2 separate regions of the Homo sapiens genome follow, and region 1 is linked to region 2. Evidence: promoter capture Hi-C in 16 types of primary human blood cells and fetal thymus (Javierre and others, 2016). All regions are on one chromosome and are shown on one strand. The core of a region is centred on a gene start or on the middle of the fragment in contact, and the rest is flanking DNA. Distances in the headings are between cores, read along the strand shown.

Region 1 (5,965 bases), core at 482-2,981, 85 kb after region 2:
AATCCTTCCCAGTTGGGTAGCTCTGTCCTATGATTTTGCTATCTGGGCAACTGTAGATGATGAATTAGCTGCGATTGATTTTCATCATCAGTCATCAGCCATAGCATCTGCTATACCTCTGTTGACTCCGTCATCTCCTAGGGAGCTTGTACTCAACATTAATGACAACATTAGCCCAGGTGACATGTAATTAAGAAAGCAAACCTTTTTCCAACCAAAAATAATATGAGAGATTCCAAATCCAAACAGAACAGAGCTGTGGATCATTTCATGTTTGTCTTCATATCATTCTCTCCACTCCACTCCACTGACACAGCGTGATGCTTGATTGTCCTCTAAGCCCCTTCCATTGCTGTCATCTGGGATGCTGGCAATGTATTGTGCTGAAAGGGAAGCTTATTAATAAAGTTAGTAACTCGAAGAGTCAGTGCAGGTTATTTGTAGGATGCTCATTATGAGTCTTGAGTCTGACTCAGTCCAGAAAGCAATGGAATATTCCGCATAACCACCTAAAGGACTTCTCTTTCCCCCTTCCCCAGGGTCTGTTTCTCCTGTAAGGGTTCAGAGCTGCCTGGCAGAGGCTGGCTGAAATAGGAGAAATCCTGACTTAAGCTGTTTCAGGAAAGTGATCCAGTCTTTGGAGAATAATCAGGACATAATTAAGTATGAGTAAAAGGCTTAGAGTTAGTCTGTTCTCCTCTGTAATGGGGTGTTCACTAGTGTGACAGTTGTTTTTGTGACTATTGCTTTTACGTACATTTTTGACCAGCACTTGGAACACTACCTCAGGGTAACTTAAATGAAAGTCCATTTTCCAGGATGGAGTAAACTGACAGAAATTTCCATCGTGCATCAAATCTGCTATAAGTTGTTTGCCTTCTGGGTATTTTTGGGCCCTAGTTGTACTCCTGAAGAAATAACCACTGTTGCTCCAAGTAGAAAGTGGTTGAGGAGACAGCTAACAGATACGTCCAGTTCTTATTTTCTATCACAGAGATGTGAAAAAAAAAAAGCCTAAATTATCTTAGAAGGAAAAGCATTCCTCTGTGCTGGATTTCCAGTGCTTCCCAGCTTTGCACTGTTAGCTTATTTTTTCCAATGTCCCTATAATAACAATCCACTCCTTTCTCTGCACTCCTGGCCCCTCGTGATGTTTTATCATGCTCATGCTGAAAGAAAAGGTGTCTGTCCATACTGTATCTCTTCATTTGGCCTCAGGGATTTCCCTTTGATTTGGAAAGAATAATCTTTCAAATTCCGCTATAAACTATACAGGAGAAAGAGAAAAATAAGATAAAGCTCCTGGAATGTGCACTGGTATTGACATTTCGTTCAAATAATGGGCTGAAGGTGAACTATCTTTACTATTGCTCATGTGAATGATCAATTATTATCAATCCAAACTATCAACAGTGCTGCTTATTATTGATTTATACTGCATGGTTTAATTTTGTCTCCATCCTTCCAGACATTAAAACATAGCCAATATTTAGCAGTTCCCGCCATTCACCATGAGCACCTCCACAGCCCCCAACTCCTCTCTCCCAGTTCTGCCCAGGATATTTATGGTGAGTAGCGAGTTATCTCCTCTTTGGCAGTCATCCCTGCTTTCCTGTGTGGAGGAATTGCCCACATTCGCATTTGCAAACAGAGGCTCACTCAAGTGTCACTAAAGGAAAGGAGGTGGAGCCTGAAGAGCTTTAAAAAGCAAAGCTGAGTCATTCCACTTTTCAAAAAGAGAAACTGTTGGGAGAGGAATCGTATCTCCATATTTCTTCTTTCAGCCCCAATCCAAGGGTTGTAGCTGGAACTTTCCATCAGTTCTTCCTTTCTTTTTCCTCTCTAAGCCTTTGCCTTGCTCTGTCACAGTGAAGTCAGCCAGAGCAGGGCTGTTAAACTCTGTGAAATTTGTCATAAGGGTGTCAGGTATTTCTTACTGGCTTCCAAAGAAACATAGATAAAGAAATCTTTCCTGTGGCTTCCCTTGGCAGGCTGCATTCAGAAGGTCTCTCAGTTGAAGAAAGAGCTTGGAGGACAACAGCACAACAGGAGAGTAAAAGATGCCCCAGGGCTGAGGCCTCCGCTCAGGCAGCCGCATCTGGGGTCAATCATACTCACCTTGCCCGGGCCATGCTCCAGCAAAATCAAGCTGTTTTCTTTTGAAAGTTCAAACTCATCAAGATTATGCTGCTCACTCTTATCATTCTGTTGCCAGTAGTTTCAAAATTTAGTTTTGTTAGTCTCTCAGCACCGCAGCACTGGAGCTGTCCTGAAGGTACTCTCGCAGGAAATGGGAATTCTACTTGTGTGGGTAAGTACTCCAATGAAAAGGTGCTCCAGGTCTCCGGGAAACTGCCCCCACATCCCTGTTGGTTCAATCTGGTATACTTGGGCATTTAACAAAGTTTGTCTTTGGGTATGTATAGTTGCTTAATTTTTGTTTTCTGATGCATGTTTATTTTCTTACTGGCCATTAGAGCTAATCTGCTACCAACTATAAAACTTCATAACTCTCAAACTGTACTTCTGTGTATAAGTGAATGAATATGCCTCATTTTAAACTAGCAGAACATTTCATGGAAGCTTCAGCTTTTACTCTGACAAGAGGAGTAATTAACACCTGGCTAATTGCTTGGAAATTAGGGAAACAGATGGTTGATTTTTTGTTTGTCTGTTTGAAACTCTTAAGCCACAAAGAAAAAAATCCTTCCTTCTGATAACTTGTAAGAATTCAGAAGTTCTAAAAATTAGTGAAAAATGGAAAGGGAACTGTGAACAAAGGTAGTTGTGAAAATTAACCTAAATTTCAATTTCAACCTCCTTCACTTTCTCCCCACTCTTACTGTTTCTGAGGCTCTGACACAACTCCGGAGTTTTAGTAACAGGTGCATTGCAACTTTAAGAACTGCCAAATATGATAATGGGTAAATAAGCCACACTGTCCTCTCATATTAAATGAATTTTTTGCCAAGGGGAAATGGGAGCTTGACTGAATGCGAATTACAATCCTGCCAAAGGATATTGCCTGAAAAACATTCTCTCTCTAACTGTTAATTCATTTATTTAATCCTTGGGTGAGCCTCCAACCTGCTGCTTAGACACGGCAGCCGCCTTTGTTGATGAGAGGTTATAGCTGCCCCGACATTCCATTTTTATCAGCTTGCCCTTTTGAGATGGCGTCTGGCTTTTAAAAAGAGGTAGATTGAGGGGGAAAACACAGTACAGTTTCCAGAAGAGACACCTATGGAAGACAGTACACAATAGGCAATAGTTTGAATAAAGAGAGCAGAATGGAGCCAAACTGCCAAAGCTAGGCTGCTGTCCTGGCTCTCCCATTAAGGAAGTTCCCGATGAGGAAATCAGGTGCTTTTGCTCAGAATCTCTGGACTCTGTTCTCAGGTAGCACTCCTTGTAACAGGTGAGCAGAACTCTAGGGTATTTGAAATAAAGACTTAATCCTAGTGATCTCTATGTTCCCAGCACCTAGGACATTCCTGCTTCCACAGTGTGTACTCAGCAAATTCTTGTGTATGAATGAGGCGTCTTTCTCTGATCTGCTAATGACATAGTCCTAGAGAACAGCAACAAAAAGAGGGTGACAAATGACAAAAATGGCCCCATGAACCTCAGACTCAGCTGTTGGAGACAGAAGTAAAACTTCTGTATACAGTTATGTCAAATGGACTGGACTCTCTTTGGGGTGGGAGAATTTTCCGTGGAGTAGTTGGCAAATATCTAGAGTTGGGCACTGTCATTTGCATGGGATGTGAGGGGTGATGGTTGGGCCGATCTATCAGGCAGCCAGAAGCTAGGAAAGAAGAACCCAGGTTGCTGAAGCAGAACCCAAGAAATTACAAAAATGAGCTTTTATGGATGGCTCTAGGATCTCAGAATAGTCTGATTCCTGCTGGCAAGCAAGTCTATGCCTTGTTTTCCTTGCCACCTCTGGTGGCTCAGAAGTGCCTTCATTGAGGTAGGTTGTACCCAATAAACATGAAACCCAGGATAGAAACAATAAGTTGGGGAGACTGTGTCACAGAGTGGAAGGAACCACAGGTTTTAGAAACAAACAAGCCTCATTTCATATCCATGCTACCAACTTAATAGCTGAGTTACTTTAGAGTATCTCTGGGAAATAATACCCTCGCCCACTGCTTTTAGGATTTTTTTGTGGGGAATCACATGAGATAACCTAGCATGTACCAAAGCATGGTGCTTAGCAGAGTATGCTCAATAAATGTCCTCCTGGGCTCCACGTCTTGGCTAAATCTCTGATCAAGTCATACGATGAGATGCCGTATTTGAACAGTGCAGTGACACGGCACAGATCCATGGAGTGTGGAATGTGTGGATGGCACTTTGGGATTCCCTGCCTCTCTGCTACCTCATTTCTTGCAAGTCACTGGTTTAAATCCCGTACTTTACGCTCCTGGTCTCATGTTAGCTGATAACTGCCTGGGTCACCCTTTGTCAGTCACTGTGTGCATTTCAGAGGATAGTATTTCTTTCTCCTCTCTAAATAGATATGGTGCCATCATCTATTTTTCCCTCATTTAAATTCTACTTGCCTTATTTCTTGCCCTTGGCATTGAGACAGATCACCTCTGCAGCCACCTGACCCAGCAGGAAGAATGCTTTATGGTCTAACAGTATTCAGGTAAACTTATGCAAGATTGTTACTCATGTGACTGCTAGCCGGATAAACCAAGTGATAGCAACACAATTAGGTTTCTTTCTATTCCCCTCCCTCTCCCTCCTTTTAACTGAGTATTCTGTTAGCGTCTACTTGAGCTACAGCAGGTGAGGACAGCAGGAAAGAAAACTGCTGGCAAGTGGTTTCTGAACCTTCAAGTCTATTTACCCTGGAGGACAAATAACAGTTGAAAAAGAAATTGTTCCTGTTTGGCTTCTGTACCTGCATTATTTATATGAACTTTTTTGGTAATAAAGGGTAAGGAAGAAGTACAGCCTCCCAGCTGCGGGAGGGATCCTGGGGTGGCACTAAGTTATCACTTTTAGTAGTAAACAGTGAAATCAGTGATTTCAGTACCGGCTAAGGCGTGGTCAGCATCCCAGTCATGTGCAAACCAGAGTAATTCTGAGACCAGAAGCTTGTCTGTTTTTTCAGCCAGGGTTATGCGATTTTTTTTCTTTTTTTCTAACAGCAGTGAAACTAACCTCCAAATATTCAGTGGTGTTTGGTCATTGAGCTTAGTGGTAAAGAAGCATAAATTTTGGAGACAGATTTCTTGCCTGGATTCAAATCCCATTTCTGCTGCTTGTGAACTGTTTGTCTCATTTTCCTTACCCTAAAATGAAGATAATTGTACCCTCTTCCGAGGACTCTTGTCAGTATTGCGTTAATGTATTCATTTTCAGTGCTGGCTGTGCATTAGAATCACTAATGTCTGGGTGGCCACCCCGGGCAGTCTGGATCAGAGTCTCTTCTGGGAGTGGAATCTAGGCCTTATTTTTTTTTAATGTGGTGATTCTAACCAACAGCCTGGGTTAGAACCACTGAGTTAATATATGTAAAGTGCACAAAACAGAGCTTGGCATACAATAAACACTCGATAAGCCCGAGATTCTATTAATGTTTTGTTGTTTTAAAAATTATTTTTATGAATGTAATGGTATTTTCTAAATGTGGCTTGGTTTCGCCTATAATCATCGAACATTTTTTATACATGACAAAATGCCATAGTGAAAAACCCAATAATAGTTCTACAACATTAAAAATTATAGTCAAAATAATTTAAAAATACATAACTCATATTTTTGTAATCAGAAGAAATGTTTATTAAAAATACAAGAACATGTCAACTTGATTTGAGTAAGTACCTTTGTGAAACTGTGGCTCTGGTGTTTGTCTTTTTCTTATACCAACTGATAAAAAATTTCATTCATTGCAAATTAACTCTGTTCGTCGGGTTTCTTACCGGTAATAATCTTATTTTAACAGCAG
Region 2 (6,100 bases), core at 1,357-3,856:
GGAGCCATTTACCCTGCCATTCATTTTTCACTTCTCAAAAGGAATGATGTTTCTATATCGTTTGTTAAATTTTCTAACATGCCCATGGAGGAACGCTCTTGAATGCTCATTTGAGGAGCATACAGTGTTGTCTTTGTCAGTATTTGGGGTTTTATCTTTTTCTGATTGATGGAATTGCAGCAGGATGAATAAATACATAGGCCATTAATATATATGATGAGCAAATGTGTTGAAAATTACAGTTTTTACAGGAATAGGCAGTTATGCTTTTACAGCTTAGGACAGGAGATTATTTGATTTGGAATTGTGGTGATGAAATTTTCATGGAGTGTTAGGGCCAGGGCTTTTGCTCGTGGTTTGGAAAAGATGTTAGTAAGCACCAAAGGGTGATGGCATTGTCCCAAGGACAAATAATAATAGCGCAACATTTCTACAGTTTGTTTTTTTAACATTAAAAATAAATCTAAAATGGCAATAATGGAAATAACATATAGATCAGTAGACAAACCAGTTGGAAATTTTACCGTTTAGCTTATGTATATCTTTTTTTCATTGTCCATCTTTAAGCTTTTATTTCCACATCTTTTCCTTTTTTTTCCTTATAGTTTCTGGGTTTATTTATTTGTTTATTTATTATTATTATTTTTTGAGACGGAGTTTTGTTCTTGTTGCCCAGGCTGGAGTGCAATGGTGCAATGTCGGCTCACTGCAACCTCTACCTCCCGGGTTCAAGCGATTCTCCTGCCTCAGCCTCCCAAGTAGCTGGGATTACAGGCATGCGCCACCATGCCCGGCTAATTTTGTATTTTTAGTAGAGATGGGGTTTCTCCATGTTGGTCAGGCTGGTCTCGAATTCCTGACCTCAGGTGATCCGCCTGCTTTGGCCTCCCAAAGTGCTGGGATTACAGGTGTGAGCCACTGCGCCTGGCCTAGTTTCTGGGTTTTTTTGAGGCATTTCATTTTGAATCAAATTCACATGTATTTCTAAGCCTTATCCCAATATAGCTTTTCTGTATCACCCATGAAGGAAGCATAAAAAAGAACTTCAAATGCACCTACCTCACTCATATCAAAACTTTCATCTGCAGCAGAAAGCTGACTATCTGAAATTATATATTTTTCAGTTCTTAGAAATAATTATTTCTGGAAAATTTTTCATGGATGCTACAACTAGGTATAACTTATTACAGAAAAGGAAGGTAGTATGACCCAAAGCAAATTCAAAAATTTTAAGTTTTGTTTTGCATATTGAATGAAAGAAAAGACAAAGACTTTTTAAAGGGAGTGATTTCCTCTTGGGTATTATGTTTTTTGCTCTAGGGTCATTTGAAAACAATACTGACGAGATTCGCTTTTCTAGTATAGGTATAACAATATTACATTTATAAAAATGTGAGTACTGGTAGCTATAAGATTTGGGACAGATAAATCAACCTGTTCATCTTGAGTTTATACACAGGCAAGAGAACTGAAGCAAAAGGATTATCTTAGGTTTCTGCTGTGCCATTCTAGGATTTTTATAAAATTAAACTAAGTGGGTAAATATAGCCCTCTAGTGGTTCTGTTTTATGCTTACACTGTTAACTTTGGTGCATCTAAGCATTTCTCTAATGTTTACTGATTTTAGGAAACTGAGGAGAATCAGATTTTAATAATGTTAATGGCATAAAGAATATGGGAAAAAAGGTAATAGGGATACCTTATTATTCTAACAAAACATGCTCAGGTTGGTTTTCAGGTTGTAATGTGATAATCCAGAATATTTTTATTCTGTACTTTACAATATCAGTGATTGAATTCAGATACTCTGGCAAAGTATACAATGATTACTATCATCAGATAATATTAATTACTCATGTGCATATCAAACTATAGGGGAAATTAACGGATGGTGGAGTTGATCATATTATATCCATGCTATGAAATACATAGCTACTAATAAATTAGACTTTATTAGATTCTGGGTTTATTAACTTGGATATTATAATACAGCCTTATGGGAAAACAAGTTGCATTATATATATACATTTGTACTTATTTTTTTCCCTCATTTTTATTTACAAGAAGAAAGTGGAGGAAACCTGAAACACTTGTATGAATATGTGTATAAGCAGAGAAAAGCCTAAGAAAGGATATGCACCAAACAATACTGGTACCTTTAGGAGAGTGAGATTTGGAAGTAGGAAGGAGACTACTTCTTTGTCACTAATATTTAAATTGTTAAGAAAAAAAAAACAACAAAAGGAGCCGAAATGGAAAGACTTGAATGGTCAACAGAAAACAGGGACCTTAATCCGAATAGTTTTAGAGGACTAAGGCTGGCTCCTATACTGATTTCCTGAGTTTGTTTATTGTTAAATGGGATGTGTGTGCTTGATAATCTCCTTAGATAGAAGACTGATGCCCAAATAGGTTAAAATGTGTGGTGCTTGGTATTTCTTTTTGTTTTGCTAATAAGCTTTTCCCTTATTCTGGGAATTAAAGTCCTTTCCTCTTTAGCCCAATTAAATTTGTTAAGGGAGGGCCTCTATGAAAAGGCCCTTCTTTGAGGTCTCTAAGTGGAAATGATTGGTCCTAAAAAATCTTTCCTCAGTAGCTCATAAAGCAGTTCATAATTATCGAAGGCTTATTATGAAGGGTGTTTCGGTATCTTCCCTCCAAAATGCTAAGAAATAATTTAGGCAACAGTTCAGACTCTAAAAATGAAGATGGCTCGGTCTTTTCACAGACTGAACACAATATTGTTGCAACTTACTTGATTATGGCAGGTATGGATATTTAAGTAAGTTATTTTTCTTTAGAATGGGTGAAGAAAGGCAGAAGTTTTCAGCATAAGGCATGCATTGTTTCAAGTTCCATATTATTGGCCAACCTTGACAAGTCATTTATCCTGACTTGGCTTGCTCGTTGGTAAATGAGGATGATGATACTCTATTTCTGGGCTGTAAAGATCAAATAAGATAATGTGGGTGAAAGAATAAGGGAAAGCATTGTTAGTGATGGCCATTGCCACAGGTTATTTTGAATTTTGGTAAATAAGAGCAGTGAAGTGGGGCTGAGAAAAGTTTTCTATGTGATAAATAGTTCTTTCATAAAAATCTATGTATTTGATTATTGGATTGTTAAAGTTTTTATTGGAGAAGAGTATGCACCATGGCAAAAACATATTTTTATGTCATTTACTATTCTTATACATAACCCTCATATTTTTGTTCTTGGTGGTAGAATTTAGCTAAGAACTTAAAGGTTCTGGAAAGAAAAAGTCCTAAGAAGACAGAGCAGGGTATATTGTCATTGAGGACAGAGTCTGAAAATTCAGCTTGTTCCAGAATGCTTATTGGAAAACTCTTGAGTTTTGGATTTCATCTTTTAGTATATTTGCAACTGTGAGCATGTATCTTCCCTTTTTGTTCTTCCATTTTCTCATCTGTAAAACAAGGATAAGAATAAGTTATCTGTCATGATTGTTATAAGGAGTAAAATTAAGTGACACATAAATGCCATATAGTAGGTGTTGGACAAATATTTGTTTCTTTTTCCCTTTCCTCCCTACACACTCATTGATGTAAAGGATTGTTTGCAGAAAAAAAGGGATGGGGGAATGACAGAAACTTTTTATCTTTTTAATGTATCATTGAATTGTGTAACTTTTATATTGAGCAATCACTTAATTTTCAACTTTATACTCTAACGAGTTGTAGAAGTAACTCTTATATTGAGTTCATTATTTTTTGGATTGACTTTTATAAAAATTTTCAAACATTCAAAAGTAGAGTGAAAAGTATAACACACCATCCTATACCCAGTTTATAATTGTTTACGTTTCTTCCTTATAATTCAGCGTATTACTTCTAGTACTGGAAATTGAGTTCCTCAGTTAAGTTTTGCGATTTTAGTGACGTTATCTCGTTCATTTGAATACCTCTATGATAAGTACTAGACAAGTTCTAGTTTTTTTGTAATTGCAAAAAAGACTGAGAAAATCTCCTAACAATTACATGGAAATACTTTGTATACAAGTGTTTGGTTTAGTTAGTTATTTGTAGATGACCAAAAAAAAAAAAAATCCAAAAAACAACCAAAACTATCCTTTTTTGACCTGGTTACAAAATTAGCATGCAGAAAATATTCTATTTAGTTCTTATCTCTGTAACAGTAATAATAATAGTAATCTTACTACTACTGCTACTAATGTTATCATTTGAATACTTGCTATATACCAAGCACTGTTCTAAAACCTTACACATACAGAATAATTCATCCTTACACTAATTTAGTAAGTTACTCTTCAGTTTTATTTCTCTAGTTTATACAGATGAAGAGCTTAAGAAACTTGTCCAGCACACACATTTACTAAGCAGCTACACCAGGATTTGAACCCAGGCATTTTGGTTCTAGAGCCCTCACATATAAATCCAAGAGTCAGCTTTATCAAGGTATACAATGAGTGTGTGTTGTTTGTGTTTCTGGTGGATCCACTGAAGGAAGCATAGCTGAACTCTTTATGCTTTTGTTCTGCCCCTGTATCAAGCATCTATTTTTCTTTAGATCCCCTAACTTTCCTCCTTTAACAAAACTCACTTAAAGTTGCAAATCAAAACCAAAACTATGAGGAAAGGGTGTAGTGAAAGCATTTATTTCATTCGTTACTTTTACCAAGGGCCTATTTAGATTTTTTATTTAATTTTTAATTTGATCTTTCATTTATAGTTTGGCTCCTATAAACTGTTACAACTTCCAGTGCAACAGACATTTTGTTAATTTAGTGTCCTTGAGCACTCTCCCTTTCCCCAGTTAAGGCTGGGAGGTAAGAGGACATGGTGAATTTGAGGATCTGAAATAAATCATTATGTTTGAACTGTAAAATGAAGGGTGAGAGGTTGAAAAAGATGGCTGAGTACCAGACAGTGATGAGCCGTGTAAGTTTTAAAGGTGACAGGGAGTCACTGAAGGGTTTGAAATGGGAGTGACATGATCTGATTTGTGTTTTAGAAATGTGCTATAGTGGTAGCTAAGGGACCACATAGGAGGCCATTGCAGTGATTCTGAGGAGGGAGTAATCGCAGTGGGGACAGAAAAAAGTAGATACATTCAAGAGCCAGAAGGTGGAATTGATGATTGGATGTTGGGATTGTGGGAGAAGGAGAGAAGTATCAAAGATGATGCCTAGGTTTCTTTTTTGAGCCACTGAATAGATGGTGATGCTCTTCATCAGATGGGAACACACCTGGGGAAGAACAGGTTTGAGGCAGGAGAAAAAGTCTCTCAGTTCAGTTTGAGAGGTGTCCAATAAAAAGCTGGACACATGGGTTTGAGTGTCCGGAGGCTGAAAAATATCAGGGTATAGCCTTGGGTATGAAGAAATTACTCAGAGTATGTGTTAAATGTGAAAAGAAAGGGATCTAGGACAGAAGGTTGGACAATGCACATATTTAATAAGACATAGATGGAGAAAGAAAGGCCAGGAAGTAGATCAAGAAGGGTCTGTTGAAGAGATTGCACGGAAGTCACGGAAGACAAGAAGGAAAATGTTTCAAGAGTGAAGGAGAAATCAACATCAAGTGCTACTTAGTGTTTAGACTGACTGTGAAATGGGACTTAACTAAAATCTAACAACTAGGTGATCTTTTGTATACTCATTAGAAGACCTACAGCTGTGGAAACAAGGCAGTGTGCTTGGTACAGCTGCAGAGAGAATAGAGAAAAGGGCTAAACTGTTTAGTTCATAACCCCCATTATTTCTAAGACTCCCAGAATTATAGTTCCTTTATTCTGGTTGCGTACTTGGTAGGCAGCAATTTACTGCACTGTTTTTATCTAACTTTAAAAAGTCATTGAATTTGTAGCTAGCCCAGAAAGAGTCTTCATTTCATTAAATTCTTCGGAGTATATCTTGTATACATGCTACAATCCTAGATGCTAAAAATAGGGCCAAAGAATCATCAAATTTGCTGTCATTGTGTGCTAATTATCTTGAAGGAATGATAGAAATTAAGCAATATGGGTTTTAGTTGTAGCCCACTTATTAAATAAATCTGCTGTATGTCACGTATTCAAAAACCACAGAAATCATGAGGAGCCTGAAATCCACATGAAAAGA

Evidence for each region. Contacts are between HindIII fragments. The CHiCAGO score rates a contact against its expected background, and 5 or more counts as called.
Region 1: the fragment with the promoter of EGF here is called in contact with the fragment with the promoter of RRH in region 2 in 1 of 17 cell types (megakaryocytes); the score reaches 5.3 in megakaryocytes.

The regions. Positions count from the first base shown.
Region 1 is chr4:109,911,152-109,917,116 of GRCh38, forward strand. It overlaps EGF (epidermal growth factor), which reads left to right and starts at 1,732. Exons shown (of 24, transcript NM_001963.6): 1 at 1,732-2,311. The coding sequence starts at 2,185. The HindIII fragment of the contact is 2,188 bases long and covers 394-2,581 here.
Region 2 is chr4:109,825,366-109,831,465 of GRCh38, forward strand. It overlaps RRH (retinal pigment epithelium-derived rhodopsin homolog), which reads left to right and starts at 2,607. Exons shown (of 7, transcript NM_006583.5): 1 at 2,607-2,768. The coding sequence starts at 2,663. The HindIII fragment of the contact is 4,893 bases long and covers 2,457-6,100 here.